Linked DNA regions of Homo sapiens: regions 2 and 3 are each linked to region 1. The links are contacts of gene promoters, found by promoter capture Hi-C in blood cells and fetal thymus (Javierre and others, 2016). All regions are on one chromosome and are shown on one strand. The core of a region is centred on a gene start or on the middle of the fragment in contact, and the rest is flanking DNA. Distances in the headings are between cores, read along the strand shown.

Region 1 (4,664 bases), core at 1,213-3,712:
TAGGCATGGTTGAAAAGGGCTACCCACCCCCACCCACCATCCCACTCCCGCCAACTCCCCCCCCCACACACACACTCTCTCTCTCTCCCAACCTTTAGTCCAAATCGAAGCCCGCAAACCTCAAGTATATGTACATTTATTTCCCTTCAGATGAAAATAAAGACATCGGCCTCATTTAAAAGCAAACAGGGAAAACAGTTCCACCGGCGCCCTTTGACACTGTAGCAGCGAGTGTAAAGAACAACACCCAAAAGAGAAACAGATGGACTGATGACCCAAAGAGCCCTATATTTAGGTTGATTTCTCAGACCCAGGGGAAAGGAAATGTATCGGGGAGTGTACGAGTGCTTGGGTGAGGACTGCACAAAGCACTGGAAAGGCGCCTGGGATGACAGCATCTCGCGGGGCTACACCGCCGACTCCAATGCCCGCGAAGCCGAGCCTGCTGAGGTGCCGCCGACTTCCCGGGCTGCTGCAGGGACGCAGTGAGCAAGGAGGCGTGGATACGATACCTACCGTATTTGGTTCTAATGTGCGAGGGTCGCGCGGGGGGAGACTGGGATTTCACTGGGGAGAAGCATCCCACCCATCTCCGATCTCTCATTTCTGCGTTCCGTAAACAACACAATTAGAGAGTTTTGTTTTCGGCGAGTGCGAGTGTGGGAGAGAGAACCGCGGCCTGTCCACTCCCGAGGCAGCTCCAGCCCCGCCTATTGACACCTCAAGGAAGAGCGCTCCCAGCCGCTCCGGGGCTCAGTGTCCCTGAGTCCCCTTCAACTCGAAGTAGAAGCATTTGGACAAACGCAGTCCTGTCGTCTACAGTCCTGGCGGAGCATCACACCGTGTGGGAAAGTGTGGGCCCCGCCGGCAAAGCCAGGCGAGTCATCCAACACTTTTGCTGTAAGAGTGGGGGATGGGACTCCCACCGCCCCCTCCCCAAACCCCTTAGCCCACATCCCGCCAGACCAAGGCCGCTCCGCGCCGGGCAGGCAGGGGGCGCCGGGGAGGGTTATTGACCCTGGACCCAGGCTGCACCCAGACGAAGCGCCGGAGGCTGCGCTGCGCCCTCTCCGCGGCCCAACGCTCTGGCAGCCCGCCCCCTGGGGTTTGCTCGGCGCCCAGCAAGCCCGAGGTGCGCGGGTCGCAGCGCGCCCTCTCTGCCTCCTGCTCCTAGGCTGCCGCCGCTGGCTGTGTGCCCTCCACTCCCGGCTCTCCGAGCGCTCGCTGGGCCTCTTCTCTCCCCACGTCCGAGCGCTCGCTGGGCCTCTTTCCTCCCCACCTGCGCGTGGCTGTGCGGAGCCGGTAGCTCTGCTCTGCCCGTGCCCCCGCCCCCACCCCGCGATCACAGCCCCCACCTTGGTGTCCCCTACTCCCCGCCGCAGTCCTCCCGCCGCGCAGCGCCGCGCCGGAGAGCATGGCCGAGCGCACAGCGCCCACTACCGCAGCCGCGGCTCGGCGCAGTCCACCCGCCCGCCCGCGCAACTTCCAGCGGCCGCCTCGCAACTTTTCCCAAGTCCACCACAGCCGCCCGCCGCCGCCGCCACTGTGGCTCCCTCTGAGCCGCCTACCCTACCCAAACCCCAGAAACAAACCGAGGCTCGAAAAGGCTCCCTTCTCCTGCCGGCCCCCCATCCCCCGCGCCCCCCTCCTCCCACACCCGGGACTAGCTGGTTGGCCAGAGGCAACTCTCCCCCGCCTGGGGGGAAGGGGAGGGGAGGGGGAGACTTTCTCCTCTTCTCTTCCCCCCCACCCCACCCCTTCGCGCTCACTCTCGCGCTCTCTCCTCCCTCCCACCCCTAGTCTTTGCTGCCCCCACCCCCACCCCCACCCCGGGGTTGCCACAGCTGGTCGGTGCGCGGGACTGAGGGCTGCCCAGGCTCCTCCGGCGCCCAACCCGGGAGCGAGAGCGCGGGCGACCGGGAGCAGAGACTGGAACCGGCAGGTTGCTGGGGCTGCGCTCCGCCTGCCCTCCACCCGGGGCCCCGGCGCAAGAGGCAGCCCGCGCTCCCTCCCGGAGCGCTAGAGACAGATATGCAAGATGGCAGAGGAGGGGGAAAAGCCAATAGAAAAGGGATATTGCACCTACTTGTGGCCAGTTTCCTTGCCCTGCCTTTGGATCTCATGCTGTGCCCAGTCCTGCAGCCGCTGGTGTGTGGTTGGGGCTTTTTTTTCTTGGATCCTTTCCTTCTTTTGCTCTCCCTCTCGCTCCCTCCCTCTCTCTCCTGTCTCTCTCTCTCTCTCTCTCTCTCTCTCTCTCTCTCTCTCTCTCTCTCTCTCTCTCCCTCCCTCCTGTTTCTCTCCTGTTTCTCTCTCTCTTCCACACACTCACTCTCTGTATTTTCTTCTTTCACTCTCTCTCCCTCCCTCTCTCCCTTTCTCTCAATCCACACTCGCTATCTCTCCAGCATTGTCAGTTTGGACACCTTCGCACATGCGCGCTAGACGCCCCTCCAACATCTCAGCGCCGCCAAAAAAAGTTTGGAGCGATTTATCACTTTGATTTGGAGATCTTGTCAGATGGCAATCGCCGAGGAGGCGGAGAAAGGGAGCCGCGGGGAGGGCGGCGGGGGGCGGGGAGCGAACGCAGGGAGCCAGAGGGGAGCAGACACCTCGCCCAAAAAAAGGGGAGGGGGGAATTGAAAAGGCTTGGGCAGAGGATTGATTCCATGTTAGAATCGCCAACAAGCTTGTATCATGATTATTGTTATTGTTTTTCCCACCATAAATTGCAGACATTTTTCTATACCATCTACGAGGGAAGCAAGAAGCCAGGGGGGAAAAAAACTTTAAAAACATTTTTTAAAAACCCTTCTCCTGTTAAAGAACTAGAAGGGCTGGACCCTCGGCTAATAATCCAGGAGAAAGTGAGAATCATCCTGAACTTGAGAAATCTACTGCTGCCGCTGCTACTGCTACTGAAGCTATTGCAGCTTCCGCTTTCAGGGTTGTAAGCAGAATAAATAACTGGTTTTTTCCTCGATTTTAGCTGTAATACCAATGCTTGCTGCCATCCTTGGGACATTTCAGTATTCTTTCCCTACCAAGTAGTAATGATCACCCTTGATTCCCGGGTCCGGGCCGGCGCTGGCATTTGACATCCAAAGACCTCCTGCTTTCTCAGAGGTCGGCTGTCACCTTCCGGCCTCCCCCACTGCTGCCCCGGTCGCCTCCCGATGCAGCTCTGCTTGCCTGCCATTTTCACTCACTCGCTTAAACCTACAACCTCGGGGTCAAAAGAAAGAGGAGTAGGGAGGAAAATCACACACTCTTAAAAAAATACATTGTTGAAATTTCCTTTAATTACAGGATTTACCAATGAAGTGCCACTCAGAAATGGGAATTCCTAAAGGGGCTAGCTGTGTACAAGGTATGAATCAATCCCAACTAGGTATAGATTTTCTTTTGGTACAACCTTCTTGCATTAAACAGTTTTGTTCAATACCTTCCATGTGCTATTTATGTCCCCATTAATATCTGTTGCAAATCCTGCCAGACACCATAAAAGAAAATTACAATCTTTTCAGTCTCCGTGCTGCAACAATACATCCTTGATGTTCAAGTTAAAGGAAAAGAAAAGCAGGTCCTGGGCATGAGTTTGGCAAAGGCTGTGGAGGGAAAGGGGAATCATTGAGAATGCCCAGTCGTACCTGTTGGTATTTATTATCAAATCTAGGACTGCAGACATGAGAGAGCAAATAACAAGGTTCAACCCCAAAGGGTATCAATGGCCTGCAAATCTCTTTATTCAAGAGAATCAAAGTTCAAAGAATTTGTCCTTGTTAAGGATGCCTACCATTTTCCTTTATCCAGAGCTGTGTAATTCTGGGGGCATTTGGCTGTAAGATAGAGGTCCCTGGAGAACCAAGCTACAGGTCTCAAGGGAGACAGATGTATAAGGTTGAAATGTGAGGAAGGGAAGTAGGAAGGTAAAGGAGGGAATTACTCACAACAGGAGTAAAACAACTTCCAAAAGAGAAGGCTCTAGTGCCCACACGCGTGGGCACAAGAGAACTCTATTATCCACTCTGAATTAAAGAGGCACCTGGGTTTTTTTCCAGACCTAGAATTCCCGCTGTCCTGTGCATAAAGGTGAGTGTGCTAACACATTTGGTGTGTGCAAAAGCACCAGCCATTCCAACATTCTGTTAGGTTCACACAGGTCTTTGACTCTGAAACTTCCCCCAAAATGTGACTCCACCAGCTTCCCTCAGTTTAGATGGAGAGGTGCCTACCCTCTGACCAGCAAATGTCCTCCGAGGAAACGGAGAAATGGGTCTTGAGAGGCTTTGGAAGGGGGGACAAAATCTCTAGGGAGAGACAAACACTAGGCTGACTGGCAAGAAGTTCATAAGGCTGCTTCTGATCGGTGTAAGAGACTCTCTAGGGACCATCCCCTAGGCCAGGGGACAGACCAGCAGCACCTGAAGATCCCAGCTGTCAAAATCTAGGTCTTGTCCCTCCAATCCTCACCTTCCCTGCCAGGCACCCCAGGGGTGGCTGAGCACCTTGCCTTGGTGCCCAACCGCCAAGGTAGCTTAAAAAAAAAAAAGAAAGAGAAGAAAAGAAAAAAGAAAAGAACCGCCATCCTCCCCTCCACTCCTCCGGCTAATCCCTTTCACCTCATCCCCAGGGGGTCTGTCTATGTCTAGGTTCCCTTGGAGACG
Region 2 (4,664 bases), core at 1,258-3,757, 600 kb before region 1:
TTTTTTTACCTTTTTTAAGTGAATAAAGTAAGCACAGATCTGGAAACTGGGCAAGGGATGAACCATGGAGGATGACAATGGACCATTAAAAATTCAACGAGTCCTAATTGTGGCTGCTATACAAGATATGGTGTATTTGCTAGGGAAGATTAATAAAGCCTCAGATACATTTTATTATATATGACCACTAATCTGGTGAATGCAATTTTTTTCTAATCCTATTAGAAAGATCAGGAACAGTTCATATTCATTTGACACACACAACATCATTTACATATATTCTTTTCCTTGGGGCTATGTTAAATCTCCCATTTCCTGTCCCAAGGACTTGGACCATATGGATACTCTGAAGAAAATGACATTGGTCTACTATATCAATGATACCATGTTAGTTAAACTGAATAGATCAAGAAGCGGTGACTACATTGGAGACCAAGCTACAGATTCCTTCAGAGTCTATAGTAAACAATCCAATCAGTTATGAGGTTAGTATACATTCTAACCTGGACTAATGAACAGCATGATGGCTCTTGTTAATAATACTGTATTGTTTACTTGAAATGTCTTAAGAGAGATCTTAGCATCTCACCAAAATAAAATTTCAAAAGTAACTATGTGAGATGCTGGATGTGTTAATTAACTTGATTGTGGTAATCATTTCATAATATACACACATATCAAATCATCACATTGTGTACTTCATATATATACAATTTTACTTGTTAGTTGTAGCTTGATAAAGCTGGAAGAGTAGAAGAAGAAAAAAGAATGAATGACCTAGTCAGCTGATGTTAGCCAGACTGCTCATCAGCAGCCCCAGTACTTGCACAATAGATGCATGAATGGTGTAGCCTGATGAAGGAATGGACAATCTGCATGGGACCAAAAGCCTGAGCTCTCCCTCACTGAAGCTTATCTAGCTATTTCCACTGTCAAATGTCCAGCTTGTGAGGAATAGAGTCCAACTTGTGTGCTCTTTATAGTATTGTATCTCAAGGACATCCATTTTAGTGGCAAGTTGACAATATTGGACCCCTTCTTCCTCGAAAGGGGCAGCAACTCATCTTATACATGCATTCTAAGTATGGACTTGCATTTCTTGCTTGCAGGACCTCACCCACCATCATTAGCTGAGAGTGCACAGAGTTTGATTACCAACACAGGATCCCACATAACATCACATTGGACCAAGGAACACTCTAGACTAAAGAAAGTGTGGTAGTGGACACAGGGCCATGGGAGCCATTGGTTATATCACATACTGCTCCACCAAACTGGCCTGATAGAATAATGGAATAGTGCAATTACAGCCAGCTTGGAGATGATAGACCGTGAAGATAAGACCCTATCCTTCATAAAGTAGGATACTTCATGATGCAGTTATATAACCTAAACCAATGACCATTATATGGTTCTCTGTCTTTAATATTTAGAATACCTGGGTCCAAGACCCAAGGAAAGAAAACAGGAGTGGTCTTACTGCCATTACTTTTATTGACTTGGGGAATTTGTGCTTCCCATACCTGCAAGTTTAGGGACTATAATACCTAAAGGGAAGTGCTTTCAGAAGGAGACATTATACTAAGCCTTGAGCTGCAGTTGCTGCCTGATCACTTTGGTCTCTGCATGTCAGGACACCAAGAGCAAAGAAAGAAATTACTATGCTAGCAGGGATAATTAACCTTGATCATCACGAGTAGAGAGAGTTGCTGTCATACACTGGGGTCAGGAAGGAATATGTTCAGTACTCATGTGATCCACCTGGGTGTCTCTTGATACTCCCTTGCCAATTTTGATGGTAAATGAAGAAATGAAGTGACCACAGACTAACAAAGGTATGGTGACAATGAGATCAGACCTCTTGGCAATGAGATTCTGGATCATCGCCATAAGATAAGTCATCTAAACCTTCATGTGCCAACCAAGGGAATTTAAAATGACAGAGATGGGAGAGAATGAGTATCAGTTGCAGACTCAAGACCAACTACAGTAGCAGTGTCTGATGTTTATACCACTAACACTCTTCTTTTAAGTTTCCTCAGCAAAAGACATCCAACAGAACTGTGAAGGAGTTGCTCCTAGGAAGTGGATCCAAGAAATGCCAAGAATGGTCTCTTCTTTTTTTCTTTTTTTTTTTTTTCTGAGACTGGGTCTCACTTTGTCACCAGGCTGGAGTGCAGTAGCCTGATCTTAGCTCACTGAAGCCTCGACCTCCTGGGCTCAAGCAATCCTCCCACGTTAGCCCCCAAGTAACTGGGACTACAGACACACACCACCACTCCTGGCTAATTTTTTTTTTTTTTTTTGTAAAGACAAGGTTCTGCCATGTTGCCCAGGCTGGTTTCGAACTCCTGAGCTCAAGCAATCAGCCCACCTTGGCCTCCCAGTGTGTTAGGATTACAGGCATGAGCCACCACTCCCAGCAAGAATAGTCTCTATTGAATACCGTAGTGTGCTATCCATATGTCTCTACTTCGGTACTCGTCAGTCCTTCAAAGACATCCAAGACCATGCTTCCTCTGCAGCACCACTCCTTATCCAACGACCAGTAGATGCTGGAATTAAAGAACCAGACCCCTCGCCATGATTTGCGACAACTCTAAAGGCCTTCCCAGCTCCCGAGCTCTCCAGAAGACAGGCTGAGGTTTTTATTGTGACTGCATCATAGTTCAATTTCTTTCACTTCCACAGGTGTTAATTCCAAAAACAATCCCCAATAAACTTCCTGCATATAAGTCTCCATTTCTAAGTCTCTTTTTCGGGAATACCTGCCTACACCGCAAAATTAGTTATGATGATGATTATTATTATTTTTATTAGGCACTTAGCATATTAATTTAATTCTACTTCCCCCAAACAAAACCGTAAGGTTACTATTAAAGTAAACCCATTACAGCCAAGGAAATTGAGACTTAGAAACATTAAATACCTTACCTATTGTCACACAGGCTATAACTGGTGGAGACAGGATTTGAGCGAGGTCAGCCAATTTCTCAAGCCTGTGAGGTTTTATGAGTGATCAAGTATCGCTGTCAGAAGCAATAGCATGAACAAAGATATGTATCTTTGAGCTTGGGGGAATGAGAAAAGTTAGGGAGAGATAAGTCTTAGAAAGACAGAAGAGTTCAAATTGGAATAAACCAAGAATGCCACAGTCAATACGGATTTACCCAAAAATTGAACCAGTTCTGTAGAATTCTCCATTATTCTCATCCTAAAGAAGGAAAAACAGTATGGCTTATTGACAAGGATAAAGCTAATAGAAAAGTTACACTTGCACCCTTAATTCTGTTATATCCTTACCAGGTATGAGAAATGGCATGGGTAGAAGGAGAAGTGGATGGCAATAGCACAGAAAGAAATCCAAAACCCTCTCCTCAGGGATTATGAGGTGAAGGTGCCAGTCGTGGAATGCTGCACTCTTATTCTCCTGTGTTTATTCAGCCCTGGGGCTGAGGTTTGCCTTGGAGTTGTAACCTTTATAAGGGGTTTGCTTAATGACAGAATTATTCAACTGCATACCTCACCCCAATTAGAAAAAGGCTGTTTGGATTCTAATTGACCTTGACACAAGTCTGCTTAAAGAGATTCCCCAAGAATTATAGAGCTACTTTCAGAGTTTGACTTGGCCAGGAATATGAAATGTAACACGGTTTTTTGAATTTTCTGCAGTTACTATGAAACGACCAAGCCACAGGTATCAAACATGCTTTGTTTTTGTGTTATAATCACATTACAAATTGAACATTTCCACATGTGCAAGTTGGCAAATCTGAAATGAATGATTATGAAGATTATAATTACATATATCAGGTATATATGGCCAACATATTTTCACTCACACAAAAGCGTATTTTCCCTACTCCCTAGACATCCATGTATAGTGTGTTTATAGGATGTAAAACCATCATCCTATATATAAACCAAAAATGTATTTTTAAACAGTTATTGCCAGGTCAGGTGATAAGTCGACATAATATTTGGAAGGTGTAAATACCAGGAAGGGATAGAGATTCCTAAGCTAACCATGAGGAAATGACTAACAATAATAGGTTGAAATCAAGAAGAACATAATTTGGACTGAATATCAGGAGGAGAGAAAATAAGCTTCCTGGCTACAATAACTGTTAGGCTCTGAAATAATTCTTAAGGGAAGTAGAGCTCTCTTCCTTACCCAGGACTTTGGAAATGAGGCATGCATTCTTGGAGTCCCTTCTAACAAGCAGTTTTGCTTGGGGAGAGGAAGGAGATCTTTTCCATTTCTGTTTTCAGAGACTTGATATTAAGAAAAAAAATCTCAGAAATCTTTATGTAATTTCCCTTTAAATGTTCACCAAACCACCTTTGAGCATGATCCTGCATTTACCTTGTAGTGAACATTATGTCTCCTGTTCCTTCACAGCCAAGAAAAATCCATCCCATGGTCACACAGTTTGCAGCAACCAGGAATTATTTTCAGCTTAATCCTGAAGACCACTTGGTGGTCTTTCACTCGTCTGAGTACCTCTCCCAAGCACTGCAATAAGGAGTTCTCTAAGAATTGCAGCTAACTGCTTTAGTCAGGCGTACTCTCCTCATTTGTCTCAATCCTGCTTTTCCCTAGTTCACAGAGAAAGTGAAAGCCTAGAGTATGAACAACTATTAAGCTCCCTCTCCACCTAAAA
Region 3 (4,664 bases), core at 1,130-3,629, 560 kb before region 1:
ATAACTTACTTTTTGTTTTAATAGAAAAACTTAGCACTCAGGAAAAAATAATTTTGCATACATGCAATGTATAAGAATTTCAAAGGAGAATGACATTATGATATTACTTAAGTTGTATAATATTCATTCTTTGAAGAAATATTTACGAGTAACTAATACTGTGTGCAAGGCATTGAACATTAAATAATGTAGTTTATATTTTAAAATTGGAAAGAGTAATGTTGTCTATTTTCAATCTAATCTTTCTAAACAATATTAAAATTAGATGTGTCCAATGTGTCATATGACTAATTTTGGCATGTAATAGAATAAACTAAGAGGTAATTTAGGAAATTATTGATAAAATTGCCCGTTTTTCTATAATATACTCTATTTTATCTGTCCTACCTCTAGTTTCATATTTTCTTCTCCCCTGACTTCCCAGGTTTAAGATCTATTCTTTTTTTCTTTCTTTCTTTCTTTCTTTCTTTTTTTTTTTTTTTTTGACAGAGTCTCACTCTGTCACCCAGGCTGGAGTGCAGTGGTGCAATCTTGGCTCACTGCAACCTCCACCTCCCAGGTGCAGTGGATTCTCCTGCCTCAGTCTCACAAGTAGCTGGGACTACAGGTGTGAGCCACCACACCTGGCTAATTTTTGTATTTTTGGTAGACACAGGGTTTCACCATGTTAGCCAGGCTGATCTCAAACTCCTGACCTCAAGGGATCCACCTGCCTCTGCCTCCCAAAGTGTCGGGATTACAAGCGTCAGCCACCATGCCCAGCCTAAAATCTATCCTTTAAACCTCCTATTGGAATCCATGGAAAATGACTTAGCTGTGCTGGGGGAAAAAAAGTACATATGGGTTATTAACTCCTAGCAGAGATTTGAGGCTTGGAAAAGGAAGGCTGCAAAGTTATGATTTTTGTCAATTAAGATCATCCTAATTATTGAGAAAAGAGAACAAATGATAATAAAAAATAATATTTAAAATGGCTAGCATTTCTTAAGTACTTATTCTGTCCTAGACACTGTGCTAGAACTTTTAAACTGAGAGGTAGGAAGCCTTGATTAAAGAAACTGGAACTCTTCTAATTTTGATCCTAGCCATTAGTCAATTCTTTCTTGACTCAAAATTGAATAGACATATATTCAGACACGCATAAAATTTAAACTTTAATTATTATAAACTTTAATTATTATTTTATTATTAAAATAAACTTTAATTATTACAATATTTATCAAGATATTTAGCAAATATCATTGTCAGACCTGTAAGGCTGCTCTCCTGTGTGGGTTCTCAAGTGCCGTGTTAGGTTTGCAGACCTTGGAAAAATCTTGCCACAGTATCTGTTATGAAAAGATGTTTATAAGAGAAAGTCAGCACAGTTGACTATATTTCACTCATGCCACACAGCAGCCAGATGCTTATTCCTGATTCAATTAATCTTGCATGGAACTCACATTTCTTTGGTATTTAAAATTTACAACAAAGCCATTTCACAGATATTAATATAAATAACTCTACAAATAAAGACTGCATTCTAAGATCTGGTTGAATTTGTTCACTTATAAGCAAGCAATTTATGAAAATAGACTTTAGTTTTGATTACTCCTATACATCTCTCTTATTAACTCAATATTTTTACATTCACAAAATTGAACCAGATAAGGGGATAAAAATATGATAAGAGTTTCTGATTCTGGGTTGATGTAAACAGATTTCAAATGTTTCAACTCATTTTACATGTCAGCCACAGTGATAACTCCCTATGCATAGAGTGGTATCAGATCAGACAAAATCCTGAGACTTCATCCATCAAGGTATGTACCCATAAAAGCTTTATTTCTGGAAAGAAAGTGACATATTTTTCAAAGAGAAGATAAAGTGATATGCCTGAGTCAAATACCTACACATTTCTAAAGATGATTCAGAAATTATAAGCACAATTTATTTAGCAAAAAAAAATCACACACAAAACCAGAAACATAAAATAAGCTTTACTACTGATGAGTAACAAAAAATTTACTAGCTAGTTTTATTCACTTATGGACCTTACTTCTCTTTAATTAATGGCCTTATTCTTTAATGCCATGACAATTAATAAATATATGCTTGAGGACAGTAGTAGTATACCTTTAGATGAAAATAATTAATTGTGAAAGAAAATTCATAAATATCAAAGTGAGACAAGTAGATAGTATTTGGATTGTTTCCAACCTCATTTATCACAACCAAATGTCCTGTGTTAAAATTCACATTTAATAATTTTTTAAAAACACTATTTTTATATTTCACTAAATGAAGAACACTTTGAAGTGCTGGAGATCTATTATGGTGGCTATTAATCATCTAATCAGGAATAATTTCCAAAACAAACAGCAAGACCTTTTGAAATCAGAGGGGAGATTTCTGGAAAGTCAGCCATAATTAACTGTGCAGTTACCTGCAGGTATAGCGCTCCTTTCCCTTCCGCAGAAGGTTCTCTGGCAGGGCATTGGGAGGCGCCCTGAAGTTGAACATAGAGGGCACTGACTGTAAGAGCTCACTGGCCTCAGGTTTCAGGGCACTGAAGCTCTCTAGCTTTTCTGCCATGTTTTCAATAGCTGACATCTGAAAGGTAAAAGCACAAGACCATGAAGCGTTTGGCATCTTGTCTTCTATAATAATCTCTGGCAAACCAAGGACATCATTAAAAGGGAAGCATGAAATCTGCGACGGGTTGTAGAAAGAGACTGTAGTATCCCAATATTAAATAAACAACAACAGAATTGATTTATTTGGGAAATACCATAAGTAGAACCAAGCTTATAAAATGCTGAGCGAACTTTTTCCATAAGACCTTGGTTAGGCCATTTTATCATAATCTGATATATAATTGAACATTGAAATACATAAGAGAGCCAATAAAGCCAAGTTAACTTTTTATTTGATTAAATGACAGCATTAGTATCATGGTATGGATATTAACATAACGGAAATTATAGGAAAAGTTGCTATATGCCTTACCTAGGCAATGAAAACCGTAAGAACCATGCAGTCCCAAGAAAAGAACTGAAAGCATGGGAGAACATGAAGTATTACAGAATTACAGCTTAAGCCAAATATGGGTAACTCAGAAAGAAAAAACTAAATGTATAGGAGGGTATTGCCTAAGACTACATTAAATTAACATCTGGATATGCCATATTTTTATGTAGGATCATATACAAAGAATTTTGATTAAATATTAATTTTATCAAAGACAAAGACTAAGTTGAAATGACAGTTCATCATATGTTAATATAATTTCATATAACATAACTTGGCATGTGCCTTGTAAGACAGGGGGAGCAGTTTATGTAACCACACTTTTCGAGAAACATTCTTGAAAGAAAACTATCCCTGCCTAATTCTTCCCCTCTAGTAATCTAATTTTTGTTGTTTATAATCTTCAAGTTTTTGTACACCTGCACACTTATTTGAGAGTCACAAGCAGAAGATGGCATTTACTTTTAAAGTTGGCTTGATCCCTGTTTTTTAAAAACTTTTTGTAGAGATGGAGTCTCACTATGTTGCTCAGGCTGGTCTTGAACTCCTGGTCTCAAGCAATCCTTCCACCTGCTTCGGTCTCCCAAAGTGCTGGGATTATAGGCATAAGCTACTGTGCCCAGTCTTAGCTTGATTCTTAAGCTCCACAGCCAGAGGGACTCTCCCCTTTCCTTTGACCCTCTCAACATGTTGTGTTTCCTCAGGGCTCACATTTTATTTGGAAGCTGCTTATTACTGAATTTTTAAGTAGAAAAACAAACTTTCAGGCCATCCTGTTAAATCAACTCACCCATTATTTATTTGATTCTCAGGGCAGTGTGCCATTAGAAAGCTCAAGAAGCTATTTTAAAAGGTGTTTGCATTCTATATGCATTACATAAAAATCTCAAAGAGCTGTGATGCTAGACCAGAAGACACATAAGAACTGAGATGATCACTGCAAATTCAAACAACTGGTCAACCCAAGAAACTATCCTTTTGCTAATGAGACAGCAGGACAGAGATGGAGGCCTAATTTATGAGCTCAAGTTAAAAATAAAAGGCAACATTTCCTACTCAGAAGGAAAAATTAACAAGACATATATTCTGTGGACACACAGCTGGACAGAATACCATCAGCTTCTTAAAGTAGAGCAAAGTCTTAACAGCATGGCCTGAACATGATCTCTTCTCACAAAAGGAATATTGTGTGTTTGATTCTTCAAGTGACTATTCATGTTCTAGTTAGTTCTCTTTTTTCCCCCTTTATCCTGGAGCCTGCCCTCTCATTTCATGCCCGGACTCCTAATGTTAGCTACAAATTGCAACGTACAGGGTACTACTGCCAATTTGCCAAATGTCTTTCATCAAACACGGTACAAAAAAATCTCAGAGGAAAGTCAAGATACATTTACTTGTCAGACGACAAATGTGAACGCATCGGGAGGCAGTAAGGGCTATAAGCTCAGGGGTTTGATTCATAATCACTCAGCTGCTAAAACATTCTCCACAGATGCAAGTGGACAGCACATTTGTCACTATGAAGGATTTTGACACATACTGATCACAGGGCAGAGATATGGAATGATGCTGCTGCTCACAGAGGTTGGAGGAAATTCTGTCTCTGCAGAATATGGTCATTATTCCCTTCTAGACAGAGCATTAGCATGTCCATG

Evidence for each region. The method cuts DNA at HindIII sites, captures the fragments that hold promoters and counts their contacts. A CHiCAGO score of 5 or more calls a contact.
Region 2: a contact is called between a fragment that was not itself captured here and the fragment with the promoter of MECOM in region 1, in 1 of 17 cell types (endothelial precursors). The highest score is 6.1, in endothelial precursors.
Region 3: a fragment that was not itself captured here is called in contact with the fragment with the promoter of MECOM in region 1 in 1 of 17 cell types (endothelial precursors); the score reaches 7.9 in endothelial precursors.

The regions. Positions count from the first base shown.
Region 1 is chr3:169,661,250-169,665,913 of GRCh38, forward strand. MECOM (MDS1 and EVI1 complex locus) reads right to left here and starts at 2,463. Exons shown (of 17, transcript NM_004991.4): 1 at 2,087-2,463. The coding sequence starts at 2,123. RefSeq lists an enhancer at 1-265 and a silencer at 1,355-1,454. The HindIII fragment of the contact is 2,702 bases long and covers 1-2,684 here.
Region 2 is chr3:169,060,812-169,065,475 of GRCh38, forward strand. LOC107986051 (a long non-coding RNA gene) reads right to left here and starts at 3,382. Exons shown (of 3, transcript XR_001740574.2): 1 at 3,304-3,382. The HindIII fragment of the contact is 3,196 bases long and covers 910-4,105 here.
Region 3 is chr3:169,099,635-169,104,298 of GRCh38, forward strand. It overlaps MECOM (MDS1 and EVI1 complex locus), which reads right to left. Exons shown (of 17, transcript NM_004991.4): 11 at 2,426-2,592; 12 at 1,251-1,328. Among named protein-coding and RNA genes, the nearest start is that of LINC01997, 99 kb to the left of the region's middle. The HindIII fragment of the contact is 809 bases long and covers 1,976-2,784 here.